Regions from separate parts of the Homo sapiens genome. Here regions 1 and 2 are each linked to region 3. The links are contacts of gene promoters, found by promoter capture Hi-C in human tissues and cell types (Jung and others, 2019). All regions are on one chromosome and are shown on one strand. The core of a region is centred on a gene start or on the middle of the fragment in contact, and the rest is flanking DNA. Distances in the headings are between cores, read along the strand shown.

Evidence for each region. Contacts are between HindIII fragments. The study calls those that stand out against the background at their distance.
Region 1: a contact is called between a fragment that was not itself captured here and the fragment with the promoter of CASP4 in region 3, in 1 of the 25 tissues and cell types used here (spleen).
Region 2: a contact is called between a fragment that was not itself captured here and the fragment with the promoter of CASP4 in region 3, in 1 of the 25 tissues and cell types used here (spleen).

The regions. Positions count from the first base shown.
Region 1 is chr11:104,782,221-104,785,167 of GRCh38, reverse strand. No RefSeq gene overlaps it. Among named protein-coding and RNA genes, the nearest start is that of LINC02552, 170 kb to the right of the region's middle. The HindIII fragment of the contact is 7,314 bases long and covers 1-2,947 here.
Region 2 is chr11:104,760,745-104,763,646 of GRCh38, reverse strand. No RefSeq gene overlaps it. Among named protein-coding and RNA genes, the nearest start is that of LINC02552, 150 kb to the right of the region's middle. The HindIII fragment of the contact is 3,490 bases long and covers 1-2,902 here.
Region 3 is chr11:104,967,306-104,970,043 of GRCh38, reverse strand. It overlaps CASP4 (caspase 4), which reads left to right and starts at 1,470. Exons shown (of 9, transcript NM_001225.4): 1 at 1,470-1,525. The coding sequence starts at 1,519. LOC124902813 (a long non-coding RNA gene) reads right to left here. Exons shown (of 2, transcript XR_007062986.1): 1 at 1,884-2,738; 2 at 1,464-1,759. RefSeq lists an enhancer at 471-1,670. The HindIII fragment of the contact is 3,226 bases long and covers 1-2,738 here.

The DNA.
Region 1 (2,947 bases), core at 9-2,508, 180 kb after region 3:
TTCCTATTATCTTTTTAATCAAAACAAATATATAATTATTAAATATAACCCTGAAATTATTTTTATGAAGATTAAATAGAATAAAACTAAAGGGCTTTGAAGTTCACAAAGTCTCCTAAAAGAATGGAAGTATGAAGTTCCAGAAATGATAAATTTTCATTTTCCCTCTAAGAAAACAACAAATCAAACCACTGCAAACCAGTAGCATATGTGGTAAAATTATTGTTGGGGAGGGGCCAATGGGGAACATGAAAGAGCCATGGTTTCCTCCCAAAACTTTGAAGCAATGAGAACAAAGTTACGTGATGCTGTCTTCATTCTAGAATTTCAAAATTTTTAAGCATTTTCTTTCATATACTGTCAGAAAAAAATGGAAACCCTGGAACTGCTCACCTACCAGAGGTAGGGCTTACTTAACGTTTCTGTGGCAACCTCATATTTTTTCTCTAATAGGTTTCCCCTATCTATTTGTGAGTTACACATGGGTCTAAGAAGTAACCCTTCCTAAAAGACAGTCATTAAGATAGCAGGCAAGTTCATTTTCCCTAGTTATACTTAGCTGGGCAATCTTGTTCCCAGCCTGTGTACTCATTGATGCACCTAATGTAAGATGTATATATACATCTTAATGTCTATTTCTTTGTATGAATTTAATGCTTTATAATATTGAGGTGTTTTGTTTTTTTAAAAAAAAATCTCATTACAGTCAGATGAGCACCAGTTTGGGGAATCAAGATTTTAGAAAACTCATCTCAGTCAGACAACTTCTCTTACCATCATGACCCTTGTGGATTTTACAAGATGTCTTTTCCTTCCCTAATACCATAAACTTACCTTGAAATCCCTCAGTCTGTGAGATGTAAAATATAAACTCTGTTGGTAAAACTCCATTTCAAACATCCCAGTCTATTTCACACTGCTAAAATAATTTTTTTTTTCAGAGATAAGGTGTCCTGGGAGTGGAGAAAGGGCAGTTTCATACATGTTGTCAGCATGTCACATGTTTTTTCAATATTTAAGGTAAGGATCTGAGATATTTTTACCTTTACCACACTTGTTAAGATTTTCCCTGACCTTATGAATTCCTGAAATTTGAAATCCAATTGAATTTTCATAGATATCTCCTTGAACATTAAATTGAAATTGTCTTTAAATAAGACTCTAGCTACAATCTTAACATAAGGATGGGATTCTTCCCCCTGCTTTGTGTTTGCTAACCACTGGTTAGCTTGAGTATTATGGTTACCATTGATAATAATGAAAGAATCTATCTTTACTTCTTCCCCATTTGCTTTTTCTACCGAGAATGTCTTAAAGTTGGTGAAATTCTCTGGATTATAAATCTTGTTTGTGCATAAGCATTACTGGAAAAGCACCTAGCTCTCTATATACTCCCAGTGACAGAGTTTGAGGAAAGTTTTCACTATAATTCTTCAAAGTACAGAAGTAGACATTTGAAGAGTCTGAACAGTAGAGGAGCTTAGGGCTTTTCTGGGAGAATGTTGAGAATTCTCAGATACTCAGTTATTTCATATGTAAATAATTTGTTTATTTGTGAGGATCCATAAGCAAGTAACATAAGATGTCTCAAGAATTGCATATCAGGTCTCAGAAAGAACTGAGTACACAATAGGACTCACTCCAGTTCTAGTGTCTGTCAGAGACTCCAGTGATGCAGCAGTAACTGTAGAAAGTAGCCTTTATATCCTCTAAGAATGAAGACACTGTTTGTTATGTATTCTCTCTCCTCTGCTCTGCTGATTCTCTCTCGCTCTCTTCCTGTCTTTCCCCACTGAAGCACGCACAGACACAAAATCTCCACAAAACCTGAAGTGAATATCATTGGGTGAGGCAGTCCCCATTTGATACAGACATCTTCTTGGGCTGTACTTTTATACCAGGCCACCTAATAGGCCATTGACAAACCTATTGATAACAGGCTTTAAGTGAACAGCTCACTCCTATTCCAGTATATAGTGATGGTTTTGGGACAAGAGGGAAACAAGAGGGAAAGTATTTTAACATTTGGTGCTGAGATTTTTCAAAATGTATGGTGCCCAAAGGAAGCTCAGAAAATCATGTTCTTCTTTATAATATTTTGTTAATCCGAGCTGTGAAGCAGGTTCACTGTACATTGGTTACCAAGCTGTCTGAGTCTGGTGAGACAGAATACCCCCCATACACACACATACACACACACGGACAAGTTATATGAAGTGGAATTATTACTTACAGATAGGCAGCAGTATATGACAGAAGACTGGGATTTAAGATGAGCTAGGTTGAGGAAAGCTGCCTGAGGCAGATAAAATCTGGTCTGTGCATGTCCCAACTGCACCACAGCTCAGGGACTCTGAAAAGCAGCTCAACTCTTTGGGTTTTATACCCTGGGAGCAATAAGACATGCTGGGTTAAAATGTTGAAGGACATCCTGCTTCTAAGCGGGGCTGGAAACAAGTCAGAGTTTTTCTAGTCAGCCCTTCCCTATCTCAGCATGTTTAATTCCCAGAACATTCTAGAGTTATTCTGAAGGACTACCTGCAAGAATAGGGTAGAGCTGGATTGGTCCAAGGTCATCCAGAAGACTGTCCTACAAGAGTATGCACCAGGGACCAGCAGCACAGCATCACCTGGGCACTCAATAGAAATGCAGAATCTCAGGCTCTTCTCTGAGGGACTGAAACAGAGTCTGCATTTTTAATTGACTTCATTTAACAAGTCCTCCAGGTGACTCATATACATATTAAAATGTGAGGAGCACTGCTTTTGCCAAGCTTCCACTAGTCTCCAACTTGACTTTTAATAGACTCTTAATAGTCAATGCATCTGTCTAGATCTTAGATTCCTCTTCATTATGCTAAAATTTCAGGTCTGAAAGGGTCTATAAAGGAATGTTTTACATTTTTGAAGAAAGTAAAGTAAGTAAGAAACACCTCTGTCTGGGGTG
Region 2 (2,902 bases), core at 167-2,666, 210 kb after region 3:
CAGTTCCTGCAAAGGGCTCTTGCACCTCTGATCTCTACAATTAGTAATAAAAACAAATTTCATTCAACCATGCTAAAGGAGAGGTAGAATTAGGTATTCATTTTCTCTAGAGAAAATTATATTACAAAGTTCTTTTTCTGAGAAGAATTAAAGAATAAACAGTCAAAATAATTAAGCAGTTAAAAAATTTTTTATTTTTTTCATGTTTATGAAATGTTTGTTTTTTTAAATTTATAACTTGTGATTTATTTTTGTTCTACATAAATATTTACTCTCATCACTAATTTTGCATTTGTAATGCTGATTTGAATAAATTTCAGGCCTCACACTACCTGGATGCATCCTGCTCATCCAATACATGGCACTACTATTCACCTAAAATTCAAGGTTGCTTCTTACATGTACTTGTGGAGTCCTCCAAATATCCTTACATTACCTTTTCTCCAAAGCTTTGGCTTATGTTAGAGCAAAAAATATTTATAGGTGGTGTCTGTGTCTATATGTGTCTCTAAGTTTGCTGTAACCAGGTGAGGCTTGAAAGGAATACCCTTGACATTTATTTGTTATACAATCTGAGTTGGGTATCAAAAATACATCCCATGCCTACATATTATATCATTTTGGGATTTTACTTTGTCAGCTTCAGAAAGTCGGTTCTGAGTATACATTTCTTGGTTACTTTTTTGGCTTTCTCAGAGCCTAGTATGCAAGCAATGAAGAAAACTTTGAATTGAACATATCTGTTCTAAAGTTCTCTGGATTGAGATTGAATGTTCTGTTTCCTGTCTTAAGGGCTTGGTTTGCTTTATATGCAACTTGGTATATCCACCCTGTGGGATTTATGGTCTATTTTTCAGAGTTTGTCCTGAGAGTACTGTAAGTGTGTAGTCTCTAGACATTATAGTGGTTAACATTCTGAGAAGAGGATTCCATTTAAATCATGCGCTATCTACAATTTTTAATACTTCAAATAAATTAATATAATACAATCTTTTCCTATAATATTTCCGAAGGTAGCTTTAACTGACTTAAAATCCTCTACTGGAAAATTAGTTATATTTAATTAACTGGAAAAGCTCAAAGCATGCTGTGTCCTGAAAACTTATTTAAAGATTTACTTGATAAACCTTTATTGGGAAACTGTTCCTTGAAAATTGACCTCATAATAATACTGCCTTGATTTATAGTATATTTTATTTTAACATCTCAGACGTAAGACCATCTTTGAAATATCAGACCATGGTTTACTTAGTTGATGTTCAAAATCAAACAAACTCCATTAGCTCCATTATCAACATGAGAGATACAGGAAAGGATAGATGAATAACCTGTATTTCCTCAACTCTTCCACAAATTGCTATGGCTAGGAATGTGACATTTGTCAAAGCTTTAAGTTGTTATAATTATGAGTACTTTACCAGGAGTTTTTTTTTTTTTTAACTTTAGTATCCTAAGAAAACACCTTAACACATTTTATATTAATTTGTCCCACAGATGGGCCTTAGTAGAAAAAAAAAACTCAAGGTCCTTGTTGAGGAAAGAAGCTATGCTTTTTGTGTGAATACCCTGGGGGTGTGGATGCGTATGGAAAACACACACACACACACACACACACACACACACACACATATGCAAAGTCCAAAGATGTAAGAGGATTCTAGCTTTGGAAATGGTAAGCCATTTTCTTTTTTTCATGATCAAATGTGGCTTATTCTGGGAATACAAAGATAAATCAGTATTTCAGAAAGTTTGAGAAGAATTGATATTAAATCTTCTTTAAAGGTTCTGTAGAATTAAGTGGTGAAGCCATCCAATCTTGGACTTTAATTTGTTGGAATACTTTTTATTACTGATTCAATCTTATTATGTTATAGGTCTCCTTAAGTTTTTTATTTTTTCCTAATTCAATCTTGCCGGATTGGCATGTGTCCAGATATTTAATCATTTCCTCCAGGTTTTCCAATTTGTTAGCGTACAGTTGTTCATAATAGTCTGATGATCTTTTTTATTTTGGTGATATGAATTGTTATGTCTCATTTTTTTCTTTCTGATTTTGTTTCAGTTTTCTCTCTCTTTTTTTTTTCTTCTTGGTGGGTCAAACTAATGGTTTATCAATTTTATTATTCTCTTCAAAAACCAACTTTTTATTTCATTGATCCATTGCATTGTTTTTTCTTTAGTCTCTCTATCATTTAGTTTTACTCTGGTCTTTATTATCATTTCTTTCCTCTCCTAATTTTGTATTTGGTTTGTTCTTGCTTTTCTATATAGTTTCTTGAAGTGCATCGTTAGATTGTTTCCTTGAAATATTTCTACTTTTTTGAGATAGGCATTTATTGTTATAAACTTCCCTCCTTAGCATTACTTTTGCTGTATCTTTTATGTTTTGGTATGTTGTGTTTCCATTTTTATTTGCTTCAATATTTTTTTAAATTTTCTTTTTAATTTCCTCACTGACCCAGTGGTTGTTGTATATTGTTTAATTTCCATGTATTTGTATAATTTCTGAAGTTCCTCTTGTATTTCTCTTTTTTTTTCCATTGAGTTTTGAGAAGAAGCTTGCTATGATTTTGATTTTTTGAAATGTATTGAGACTCGTTTTGTTGCCTAACATATGGTCTATTCTGGAGAATGTTTCATGCGCTGTGTTCTGCAACTGTTAGGTAAAATGTTTTGTAGATGTCTGTTAGGTCCATTTGGTCTAAAATCCAGTTTAAATCCAGTGTTTCTTTGTTCACTTTCTGTCTAGATGATCTTTCTAGTGCTAAGAGTGGGATGTTGAAGTTCCCAAATATTATTGTATTAGAGTCTATTTTTCCCTTTAGATCTAATAATATTTGCTTTATATATCTGGGTGCTTCAGGGTTGCTGCATATTTATTTAGAATTGTTATACCCTTTTG
Region 3 (2,738 bases), core at 221-2,720:
GAAGTGTTGAAATCATTTGAGGAGAAAAGGCATTCCAGCTTTTGGAATTTTCAGCGGTTTTGCGTTGGTTTTTCGTCATCTTTGTGGATTTATCTACCTTTAATCTTTAAAGCTGTTGACCTTTGGATGGGATTTTTGTAGGGTCTTTTTTGTTGATGCTGTGTTATTGTTGTTTTATTTTTTTTTGTTTTTCTTCCAACATTCAGGCCCTTCCTCTGCAGGTCTGCTGCAGTGTGCTGAGGATCTACTCCAGACACTGTTCACCTATGTATCACCAATGGAGGCTGCAGAACAGCAAAGAGTGCTGCCTCCTCCTTCCTCCGGAAGCTTCTTCCCAGAGGATCACTGACCTGACGCCTGTTGGAACTCTCCTGTATGAGGTGTCTGGCAACCCCTGTTGAATGGTCTAACCCAGTCAGGAGGCCCAGGATCAGGAACTCACTTAAGGAAAGAGTCTGGCTATCCCTTAGCAGAGATGGTGCACTGGGCTGGGGGAATCCCCCTTGTCTGGATCGCTGATACTCTTCAGAGCCAGCAGGCAGGAAAGATTAAGTTGGCTGAACCTGAGACCGCAGCTGCCCCTCTCCGCAGGTGCTCTGTACCAGGGAAATGAGAGCTCTGTCTGTAAACTCTAGGTGGAGTTGCTGAAATTCCTGCAAGCATTTCTTGCCGGGAGAGGAGGGATGGATCCCGGTCCCACCTAAAGAAGCAGTCTGGCCATGATCTGCCACAGCGGCTGTGCTGCACTGTGAAGACTGCTGCCCAGTCCAATCTGCCCAGCCTCCCTAGCACTGGTAGGGAAAAACCGCTGACTAGAGCTGCAGTAATGGCAGTCGCCCCTCCCCTGGGGAACTCGGTCATCTCTGGCGTACTCCAGGCTGCTATGCTGGCTAGTGGGGATTCTAATCCAGCGGATCTAAGCTTGCAGGCTTCTGTGAGAATGGACCTGCTGCAAGGCCATTTTGCTCCCTGGCTTCAGCCCCCTTTCCATGGGAGTGGACGGGACTCCTGCCTCACTAGAGTTCCGGGAGCTGCTGGACTATGTAAAAACTCCTGCAGCTCAGTGCCTGCCCAAAAAGCTGGAAATATGAACTATTGGGTTAATTCTTATCAGGAAATGAAAAAGAGTTGTTAGATTAAACTTCTTCAGTCATTGTCGTTCTTTGTAATCAGAGAAAGAAAAACTGAGAGATCAGGAAGAGAAGAGACAGATGGATAGAAGAAGTTTGGGTGGCCACAGGAAACAAGAAAAGAAACAAGCTGAGGTGTCAACCCACAGGATAATATTTTGTCATTTTCATTTTTTTCCCCCAAGTCAGAAACTAAATTCCAGTAATTGGATGCCAATTTGCTGATGACAAGGCACTTCCTGATAATGAGTCTGGAATTCTGAGCAGCAGTTTCACAATCTGTAATTACACGTTTCCGCCCTTTGCAATAAGGAAATACATAGTTTACTTTCATTTTTGACTCTGAGGCTCTTTCCAACGCTGTAAAAAAGGACAGAGGCTGTTCCCTATGGCAGGTGAGTCCTTTTCTGACTAGGAGTTTGGGAGTAGGAACTTAGAAAACACTTGATTTATTGCTCTGAAATAAACACAAGAAAGGAAGTGAGCCGATAGCACACATGTTGAATTCCTTTTCTTACTGATTGTGTGTAGTTTGAATCATGGGACCTGGTGTTAGAGATATTGACGGAGGTCATATGTTTTCCAGATGTCTTTGAGCCAGAAAGAAGTTAATTCCTTTCTTTCAGCTTCTGGTAATCAAAGGGAGGGTAAAGAAAGCCAGAGGAAGTTATTTGTGTGAGACAATTCTAGAAGTTTCGAAATGCACTCTGAAATCTTTCTTTTGATTCCAAATTAATTGCCCAGATCACAAACCTTTTTCGCAGAATCAGATCTGAGAGCCTCTGAATTGTTATCTTCTTCGACATCTCTTATTGTGAATTACATTCTTGGTCTGTTTAAAGTGATTCAATTTTTTCCTCTTTCTCGTTGGTCCTGATACTGACTACTTTAATATAATATTTCATGGGTTAATATCACAGTTGTTTTGTTTTGCCGTTGTTATTGTTTTTAACTGGTATCCTTCCCTCCAGGACTTAACTCTCCAATCCATTCTGCACACAACTTTTAGGTCACCTGTCTTATACACAGAAGCTGAAAAAGCCTAAGGGATAGAGTTACTTAGGCAGCTAGTATTCCAGCAGGTCATAACGCTTCTTTGGCTTCATTCTCCTCACAGGAAAAGGAAGAAATTGGACTAGATCAGTGAATTCTAAACCTTATAACATATCGCAGCAATCTGTAGTCATATAAAAAAAGTCAGATGACTACCCCCTTCCTCACCGCGAATAGCTCAATCTTAAATACCCTGCAGGCATTTATTACCTTTGAAGATCGTCACATAATTCTTATGAAACTGACTTGACATAGGTTTGTTCTATTAGGAAAGTTGACCAGTTAGTTAACACTCTCTGCTTATCTGCTAGTGATCTATTAATGTAATTAACTTTGCTCAGGGACATACAGTGGCTCCCTATTGCCTTTTCTCTTTTTTACTATCTGAACTTTCAGACAATTTTTTCTACCTTTTGAAACATGTGTATCCAGTTTTTCCATTAATCTTTGTAAAGCATGATTTCAACTTCATAAAAAAATACTGTATTTACTTCACTCATATTACCTTGTTGTTGTTTCTTTACTCCTTTGATTCTCCCTATAGAACAATTCTCT